2 separate regions of the Homo sapiens genome follow, and region 1 is linked to region 2. Evidence: promoter capture Hi-C in human tissues and cell types (Jung and others, 2019). All regions are on one chromosome and are shown on one strand. Each heading gives the region's core, a stretch centred on a gene start or on the middle of the fragment in contact. The rest is flanking DNA. Distances are from core to core; before and after follow the strand shown. Region 1 overlaps P4HA1 (prolyl 4-hydroxylase subunit alpha 1). Region 2 holds the start of SEC24C (SEC24 homolog C, COPII component).

Region 1 (4,176 bases), core at 1,321-3,820, 650 kb before region 2:
TTTTCACTTTAGTTTCTAATTGTTCATTATTAGTATATAGAAATACAATTTACTGTTGTATATTGACCTTCTAAGCTACAACTCTGCTGAATTAACCTATTCACTAGAGCTTTTTTGAAGAGTCACAGACATGTTGTCTGTGAATAGAAACTGCTCTTTGAAGCACACTGTTTAAAGAATGAAGACAAGCCAACAACTGGGAAAAAATATTTCCCTATCACATCTAGCTATTGCACTCCTAGGCATTAATATAAGAGAAAAGAAAGCATATCTCTCTCCAACAACTTGTACATGAATGCTCATAGCAGCTTTATTCATAATAGTCAAAAAGTGAAAACAATCCAAATGTCCATCAAAGGGTAAATGGGTTAAAAAAAATCATGGTATATTCATAAAATAAAATACTATTCAACAATAAAAAACTATGAACACATAACAACATGGATGAATCTCAAATTATGCTGAGTGTAAGGAGATTCCCCGTGCTAAAAAAAAAAAAAAAAAGCGTATATACAATTCCATTTTTATAAAATTCTAGAAAATAAAAACTAATCTTAAGCAACAGAAAGGAAACAATGGTTTCCTAGGGATACAGAGAGGGTAGTAAGGAGCAAAAGAAGGGATTACAAAAAGTCATAAGGATACTGCCGATGCCCCGGCTAGAGTGCAGTAGCGTGATCTTGGCTCACCGCAGCCTTAATCTCCAGGCTTTGGGTGAGTCTCCCACCTCAGTCTCCCAAGTAGCGGGGACTGCAGGCACACAACACCACACCTGGCTTTTTAATTTTTTTGTAGAGACAGGGTTTTACCATGTTGCGCAGGCTGGTCTTGAACTTCTGGGCTCAAGCAGTCCTCCTGCCTCGGCCCCCCAGAGTGTTGGGATTACAGGTGTGAGCCACTGCGCCTGGCCAAGTATACTCTTTTTTGAGACAGAGACTCATTTCGGTCACCAGGCTGGAGTACAGTAGCACAATCACAGTTCATTGAAGACTCAACCTCCCCAGCTCAAGCAATCCTCCTGCCTCGGCCTCCCAAGTAGCTAGGATTACAGGCAGGCACCATCACACCCAGCTAATGTTATTTTATTTTGTGTAGAGATGAAGTCTTTCTATGTCGCCCAGGCTGGTCTGGAACTCCTGGGCTCAAGCAGTCCTCCTGCCTCGGCCACCCAAAGGGTTGGGATTACAGGCCTAAGCCACTGTGCCTGACCTTGAGGATACTCTTGAAGGTGATGGATATGTTCCTTATCTTGATTGTACTGATATTTTTTTAAGTAGATATTTTTGTCAAATTTATCAAATTGTACACTGTAAATATATGCAATTTGTCCTGTCAATTTTGCTCAATAAAGTCGTTAAAATATATCAGTTTATTCAATTTATTAGTAATCACCCTTATATCAAAGATTAGTGTTTTACTTATTACTATCACTCTACTTGGTGGCAATGGTCACTATTCACTATTTTCAAATACAATATTAAGGTTTTTTAAATTCAGGCATAGTAAATTGAGGTCTATTTTCAAAATATCTTTGAGGTTAAAGGAAGTAACTGCAGGCCAGGTGCGGTGGCTCATGCCTGTAATCCCAGCACTTTGGGAGGCCGAGGCTGATGGATCACCCCCGGTCAGGAGTTCGAGACCCGCCCGGCCAAGATGGTGACACCCTGTCTCTACTAAAAATACAAAAAAGTAGTCGGGCGTGGTGGCGGGTGCCTGTAATCCCAGCTACTCGGGAGGCTGAGGCAGAGAATTGCTTGAACCCAGGAGGCAGAGGTTGCCGTGAACCGAGATTGCGCCACTGCACTCCAGCCTGGGTGACAGAGTGAGAGTCCATCTCAAAAAAAAAAAAAAAAAAAAAAAAGAAGTAACTAAATTTTGAAATCATGTAAATTTGAGAATGTCTTCATGTAACCTTTGACTATGAATATGTTGCCTGAGTTTACCAAAAAAATAAATAAATAAATAAATAAATAAATAAAAAGGAGGAAGGTTGTCAGAACCATAGGGCAAGAACAAAGGTCACACACACAAGTAACATTTTGAGGTCCTAAATTCAACCAGTAGGTTTTAGAAATACCAACTTTTTTTGTTTTTTTGAGACAGGGTCTGGCTCTGTCACCCAGGCTGGAGTGGAGTGGAACAATCAGAGCTCACAGCAGCCTTGAACTCCTGGGCTCCAGAGATCTTCCCACCTCAGCCTCCCAAAGCACTGGGATTACAGATGTGAGCCACCACGCCTAGACTAAAATAAACATTTCTTGATCATATTTTTGGAGAAATTAGATATGCAAATCTAGTTAATATAAGATTAGAACTGTAAGAGAAGTCTTGAGCCTACTTAAAATCAGTTAATCAATATTTAATTTATTGTTGCAGACACATGTAACAGGATATCTGATGCTTCATACACTGTTCAATGCCTTTTAATTTTATGACTTGTATGATAGTTCTCGGCTATTCATTCTTGGGTTTTACTGAAGTTCCAAAAATCAAAGAGCTTTGATTCTTGTAATGGAAATATCTAGAGAAACTTGTGTTTAACTGACTCGGCAGAGATGAAGGCCAAATTCTCATATGTACCTATAACATTACTCAAATACTATTCTTAGTACAAAAAAGTTAAATATACTCTTATCTCTGAACATGAGCTATTCAGACCAAGGCCACTCAGGTCAGAGTAGAATACTCAAAAGCTGGCTTTAGCAGTCCCTTTCCTCCTAAAAAATGGATTATTGCTCTGAGGCCCAGGTATACTCAGCTTCATCCCTCCCAAGGCTATTCTGTCAAAATTCCACTTTTATTTCCACCCAGTCTACCTCTTTCTAGTCTTCAATTATCTGTTTACTCTAATGCCAGATCCAAATTTCTCAAGTTGAGGTAAAGAGAGACAAAATAAGACCATGTATACTAGAACAGGGAAAAATGAATTCATGGTTGTAGAGGATGTGAATCTAGATATGCATTTCCATTCAGTGCTACAGATTTAATATCTAGTAAAATGTTAGCCACATGGTGCTATATCATGTAATTTTTATGTCCTACTTCTCCTATGAAACATTTCTCATCATTCTTGATTTTCCTACAGTCTACTGGCCATATTGTAAATAATTTTTTTTTCTTTTCTTTTTTTTTTTTTTTTTTTTAGAGACAGGGTCTTGCACTCTCACCCAGGCTAGAGTGCAATGGTGCTATCATAGCTCACTGCAGCTTCCAACTCTTGGGCTCAAGCGACCCTCCCACCTCAGCCTCCCAAGTAGTTAGACTACAGATGCATGCAACCTCATGCCCCCTTAATTAAAAAAAAATTTTTTTTGTAGAGAGATGGGGTCTCACTATGCTGACCAGGCTGGTCTTGAACTCCTGGCCTCAAGTGATCCTCCTGCCTCGGCCTTCCAAAGTGCTGTGATTACAGGTGTGAGCCACCATGCCTGGGCAACATAGTAAGGCCCTGTCTCTAAAAAAAAAAAAATTTAAATATAAATTTAAAAATTAAAAAATTGGTTAAAGTTTACTGTAATTATACAGGTTGATAAAATAAACCACTAAATTACAGTCCTCTCTTTGCACTACTTATAATGGAGAAACAGCTCAAGTGTCCAACAAGAGAGTAAGGATGACCAGGCATGGTGGCTCACACCTATAATCCCAACACTTTGTGGGGCAGATGGGAGAATCACTTGAGGCCAGGAGTTCGAGACTAGCCTGGTCAACAGAGCAAGATCCCATCTCTACAAAAAATTAAAAAATTAGCTAGACATGGTGGCATGCATCTGTACCCCGAGCTACACCCGGAGGCTGAGGCAGAAGGATTGCTTGAGCCCAGGAGTTCAAGGCTGCAGTGAGCTATGGTCACACCACTGCACTCCATCCTGGGCAACAGAGCAAGATCCTATCTCTTAAAAAAAAAAAAAAAAGAGAGAGTAAGGCTGAGTGTACTAATTCCACATAATATTACTATTTAAGAAAGAAATGAGTAATATGGACACATTTTTATGAAACACTAAACATGAGGAAGAGAAAGGCCCAATATAGAACTCATTCACTGATGACAACTAGGTAAGAAGTCTGAATCTCTATAATGTATTTTTAGCAAATGTCAAATCAAATATACTAACAGTCATACTGATCATCCAAAGGAAGACCAGGAAAAAGAATGTTTTTCACCACACCGAGTTT
Region 2 (4,295 bases), core at 119-2,618:
CCTGAGCATTTGAGGATCAGAGTTCTTAAAGATAATTTGGCGAGTAGGAGCTTGGGAAGCGGGGAGTGCTGATTGGTCAGGTTGAAGACGGAATCACAGGGAGTCAAAGTGAGGTTTTCTTGCTGTTTTCTGTTCCTGGGTGGAATGGCAGAACTGATTGAGCCAGGTTACTGGTCTAGGTAGTCAGCTGATCCAATGAGTGCAGGGTCTGCAAAACATCTCAAGCACTAATCTTAGGTTTTACAATAGTTATGTTATTCCTAAAAGCAATTTGGGGAGGTTCAGACTCTTGGAGCGAGAGGCTGCATGTCCCCTAAACTGTAATTTGTAATCTTGTAGCTAATTTGTTAGTCCTGTAAAGACAGACTGGTCCCCAGGCAAGAAGGGGGTCTTTTCGGGAAGGGGCTATTATCAATTTTGTTTCAAACCATAAACTGAATTCCTCCCCAAAGTTAGTTCCACCTACACCCAGGAATGAATAAGGACAGCTTAAAGGTTAGAAGCAAGATGGAGTCGGTTAAGTCTGATTTCTTCCACTATCATAATTTCCTCAGTTGTAATTTTGCAAAGGCAGTTTCAACAGCAGTGCTCGAAAAATTATGAAATCAACAAATAGTACTGAAAAGTTCAAATGAAGTCATATATGAAAAAGAAATCCTAGCACTGTTAGCTATAATTACTTAGCCATTAAATGGGGTACTAATAATTACTGCAGGAACTATCTTTTCCAACAGAGCGCAGAGATCTTTTGGCTCTGATAAAGCTCTGCACCTAAACAAAGGCGCTGTATAAAAATGGTTAATAACAATTGACCTTTACTGAGTGCTTACTATGATGCCAAGCGGCCTATGTGGCCTAATTTCATCCTCTGGGCATTATTATTTCCATTTTACAAGCTGTAGAGCCAGACCTCAGACCCCCACATGCAGGTTGACAACAGTTGGTGCCCTTTACCACCACCACACGTTCCGCAAATCTCATAACCAGCAAACGCCATGGGTGAGAGCAACCTAGCGGACGGAAATCAACGGGGTCAGGGGTCACCAGGAAGTGACTACAAGACTCTAGCTCAGAGGTCACTAATACGTCACAGGCAGAGTGAAGGGGCATTATTAAAGATAGTTTGACAAATTCTTTTTAATCTCATTTCTGTTGGTGAGGCCATAAAGTGACTGGAACATCTGAAAAAAAATGTCAGGAGGGAAATACATACGACTCAGCAGAGGCGCACAGGCGGCGGCCATGATGGGAAGATGAAAGAGGCGCATGCGCGGCATCCGGGTCCCCGAAATGCAGACGTGGCAGAAGAAGTGGCCCGGCCCTAAAGCGTGGAGGAGGAACTTCCGGGGGTGACGGGACGGCCCCCTCGGAACCGGAAGTGGAGCCTGGGAGCCTTGACGTTAGGAACGAAGTCTAACCTGGATCTGGAGCCGGGTGAGGAGTGGCATCGGGAGGTTGGCGGGTAGGAAAGCAAAGGAGAGGTCAGGGTATTACTGGCCAGATTGGGGTCCGGTTTCAGAAAGAAGGGAGGAGCCTGGGGGCGGGGCCTGGGTAGAGACCCTCACCTCACGCATCCACCATCCAGGAGCAGGTCCTAGACCATCCCTTCGTCTCCCGGCCCAGATTCCGGCTCCTGCTTCCTGCCCCGAGCCTGTTAAAAGGTGCAAGACGTTTGGTCTCTGTGCTTAACAGAGCAGCCCCCTCTCTTAACGTGGCCCTAGAAGCCGACTTGGCTTCTCGGTTTTGATCCTCGGCTCTCCGAGGCTCCATGGCTTGACTACTTTCAGAGTTCTAGGAAGCTTGCCCCGCCCCCTTGGGTTGTCACCCTCGACTATCCACCCAGAATGGAGTCGAGACTTCAGTCTGACTCCAAGCTCTTGAATGTGTTTGAGGGGATTATTTTCTGGAGAAGAAGCTCCTTTCTTTACCCCTCCCCCCGGCTTTGGAAACATAAAGGGAGAGGACATATTTTAAACTTAGTGTCAGTGACCTACCTCTGTAAGGTTTAGGGTTTGGAAGAACAGCTATTGAGATAACTTTGAGTTTAAAGAGTTTTAGACCAGGATCAGCTCCTTTTCTATAGTCAAGGTGGCCCTTCTAGCAAAGGGGGAGAGGTCCATTGTTCCCTTTGCAGCAACTCTGAGTGCTCCTGCTTTCTGGGCCCCTTCTGTCTACAGGATAATTGGAATGATACAGCTGTTGAAAGTAGATGTGATGAGATAGTTTTCTTGGAAGGACCCTGTTTAGAAAAGGCCCTCTAATTCATCCCTGTGTTGATGAGCAAGATTGTAATAATTTTGATGGTGGCTGAGATTCATAACAATCGTAAGGGGAGCAGAAACAGGAGAGTTGGAGAAGTGCATTGGAATTTAGAATATTCATAGTCTTCTGCTTGAGGGATGAGGTGAATGATTTTTTTCCATGAAATCTAACTCTAACTTTGCCCCTGATTCTTGAACTGTTTCCTCAGATTATGTGAAGAAGTTTTGGTGCCTGTTCTGCACTTGGTTTTAATCTGTTACCTTGCTAGAGTTTTCAGGTGTCCTTTATTTTTTATTTTTTTGAAAGGGCGTCTTGCTCTATTGCTCAGGCTGGAGTGCAGTGGCACGATCTCGGCTTATTGCAATCTCCGCCTCCCGGGTTCAAGCGATTTCTCCTGCCTCAGCCTCCCAAGTAGCTGGGATTACAGGCGTGTGCCACCATGCCCGGCTAGTTTTTGTATTTTTAGTAGAGACTGGGTTTCACCGTGTTGGCCAGGCTGGTCATGAACTCCTGACCTCAAGTGATCTGCCCGACTTGGCCTTCCAAAGTGCTGGGATTACAGGCATGAGCCACTGTGCCTGGCCAACTTTTATTGATTTTAATGCTTCGGTTTTGGCCGGGCGTGGTGGCTCACACCTGTGATCCCAGCACTTTGGGAGGCCAAGGTGGGTGGATCACGAGGTCAGGAGATCGAGACCAGCCTGGCTAACAGGGTGAAAACCTGTCTCTACTAAAAATACAAAAACTAGCTGGGTGTGGTGGCACGCGCCTGTAATCCCAGCTACTCGGGAGGCTGAGGCAGGAGAATCGTTTGAACCCAGGAGGTGAAGGTTGCAGTGAGCCGAGATCGCGCCACTGCACTCCAGCCTGGCAACAGAGTGAGACTCCGTCTCAAAAAAAAAAAAAAAAAAAAAAAACCTTCAGTTTTAAGGTCCATACACTCTTTTGGTGGAAAGACTTGGGTTGGAGTATCATTTGTATTATGGCAGTTTAGCTAAAGAATGTCATTTCTGTAACTCAGCCTAAATTTTGTCATTGAGGGGGAAGGATTTTAGCAGATCTGTTTTAGATTTTTAGCCTGATTGATTTTAAATCAATTGTTCAGCACACTAGAGGGTACTCGATGTTTGCTGAATGAATGGATGCTAGAGTGAATGAATGGAAAGTGGGAACATTGTTTCTTTCACCTGTAACATCAAGGTAGTTCATCAGCCACAAGACTGTGTGACTAGACACTAGAAATCATACCACTGGGGAATGGAGGCTGCTGCTCCATTTCAGTGGATCTGTCTGAAGTTGAAATTTATACTATTTAGACAGTGACAAAGGGTGGATGGTCAGAATAACAAAATCCTTGCTTTTAGGAGATAATCTGAATGCTGGCTGGGGCAGAAAATTACTAAGATCCTGTGGAAGTGTGAGGATTATTAAACTGATCACTGTCTGATAAGGTCAATTTCTTTTTATCTCTACTTCCTGCCCTGAATAGTTGCTCTCTTTAGAAAGTTCATTTTGACTAATTTCTCCTCTCTCTCACAGGTGAGATCAAATTGGGAATGCTTTCATAATGAACGTCAACCAGTCAGTTCCACCTGTGCCACCATTTGGGCAGCCCCAGCCCATCTACCCAGGGTATCATCAGTCCAGCTATGGTGGGCAATCAGGGTCCACAGCCCCCGCCATTCCCTATGGAGCCTACAATGGCCCAGTACCAGGCTATCAGCAAACACCTCCCCAAGGTATGTTTCTGTTTCTGTTTCCTTTGAGCTAGGGAGGGAAATCAGCAGAGTCTTCAGGTTGGGTTGTATTGCTCTAGCTAAGCTACCTGAGAAGTTTGGATAACTGGGATTGAGGAACATAAATCTGGCCCTGTGTAGCTGAGAGCCCCGTGGGCGCCCTTCCCTTCCCTTTTTTTATTATTATTTTAATTTTTTTTTGAGACAGTTTTGCTCTGTCACTCATGCTGGATTACAGTGGCATGATCTCAACTCATTGCAACCTCTGCCTCCTGGGCTTAAGCACTTCTCCTGCCT

Evidence for each region. The method cuts DNA at HindIII sites, captures the fragments that hold promoters and counts their contacts. A contact is called where the count stands out against the background at its distance.
Region 1: a contact is called between a fragment that was not itself captured here and the fragment with the promoter of SEC24C in region 2, in 1 of the 25 tissues and cell types used here (dorsolateral prefrontal cortex).

The regions. Positions count from the first base shown.
Region 1 is chr10:73,089,224-73,093,399 of GRCh38, forward strand. All of the region lies in intron 1 of P4HA1 (prolyl 4-hydroxylase subunit alpha 1), which reads right to left. Among named protein-coding and RNA genes, the nearest start is that of P4HA1, 5.6 kb to the right of the region's middle. The HindIII fragment of the contact is 7,132 bases long and covers 1-4,176 here.
Region 2 is chr10:73,743,004-73,747,298 of GRCh38, forward strand. SEC24C (SEC24 homolog C, COPII component) reads left to right here and starts at 1,369. Exons shown (of 23, transcript NM_198597.3): 1 at 1,369-1,434; 2 at 3,802-4,001. The coding sequence starts at 3,830. LOC124902453 (a long non-coding RNA gene) reads right to left here and starts at 1,262. Exons shown (of 2, transcript XR_007062195.1): 1 at 1,214-1,262; 2 at 1-208. RefSeq lists enhancers at 711-1,910, 750-1,317, 988-1,417, 1,318-1,884. The HindIII fragment of the contact is 12,749 bases long and covers 1-4,295 here.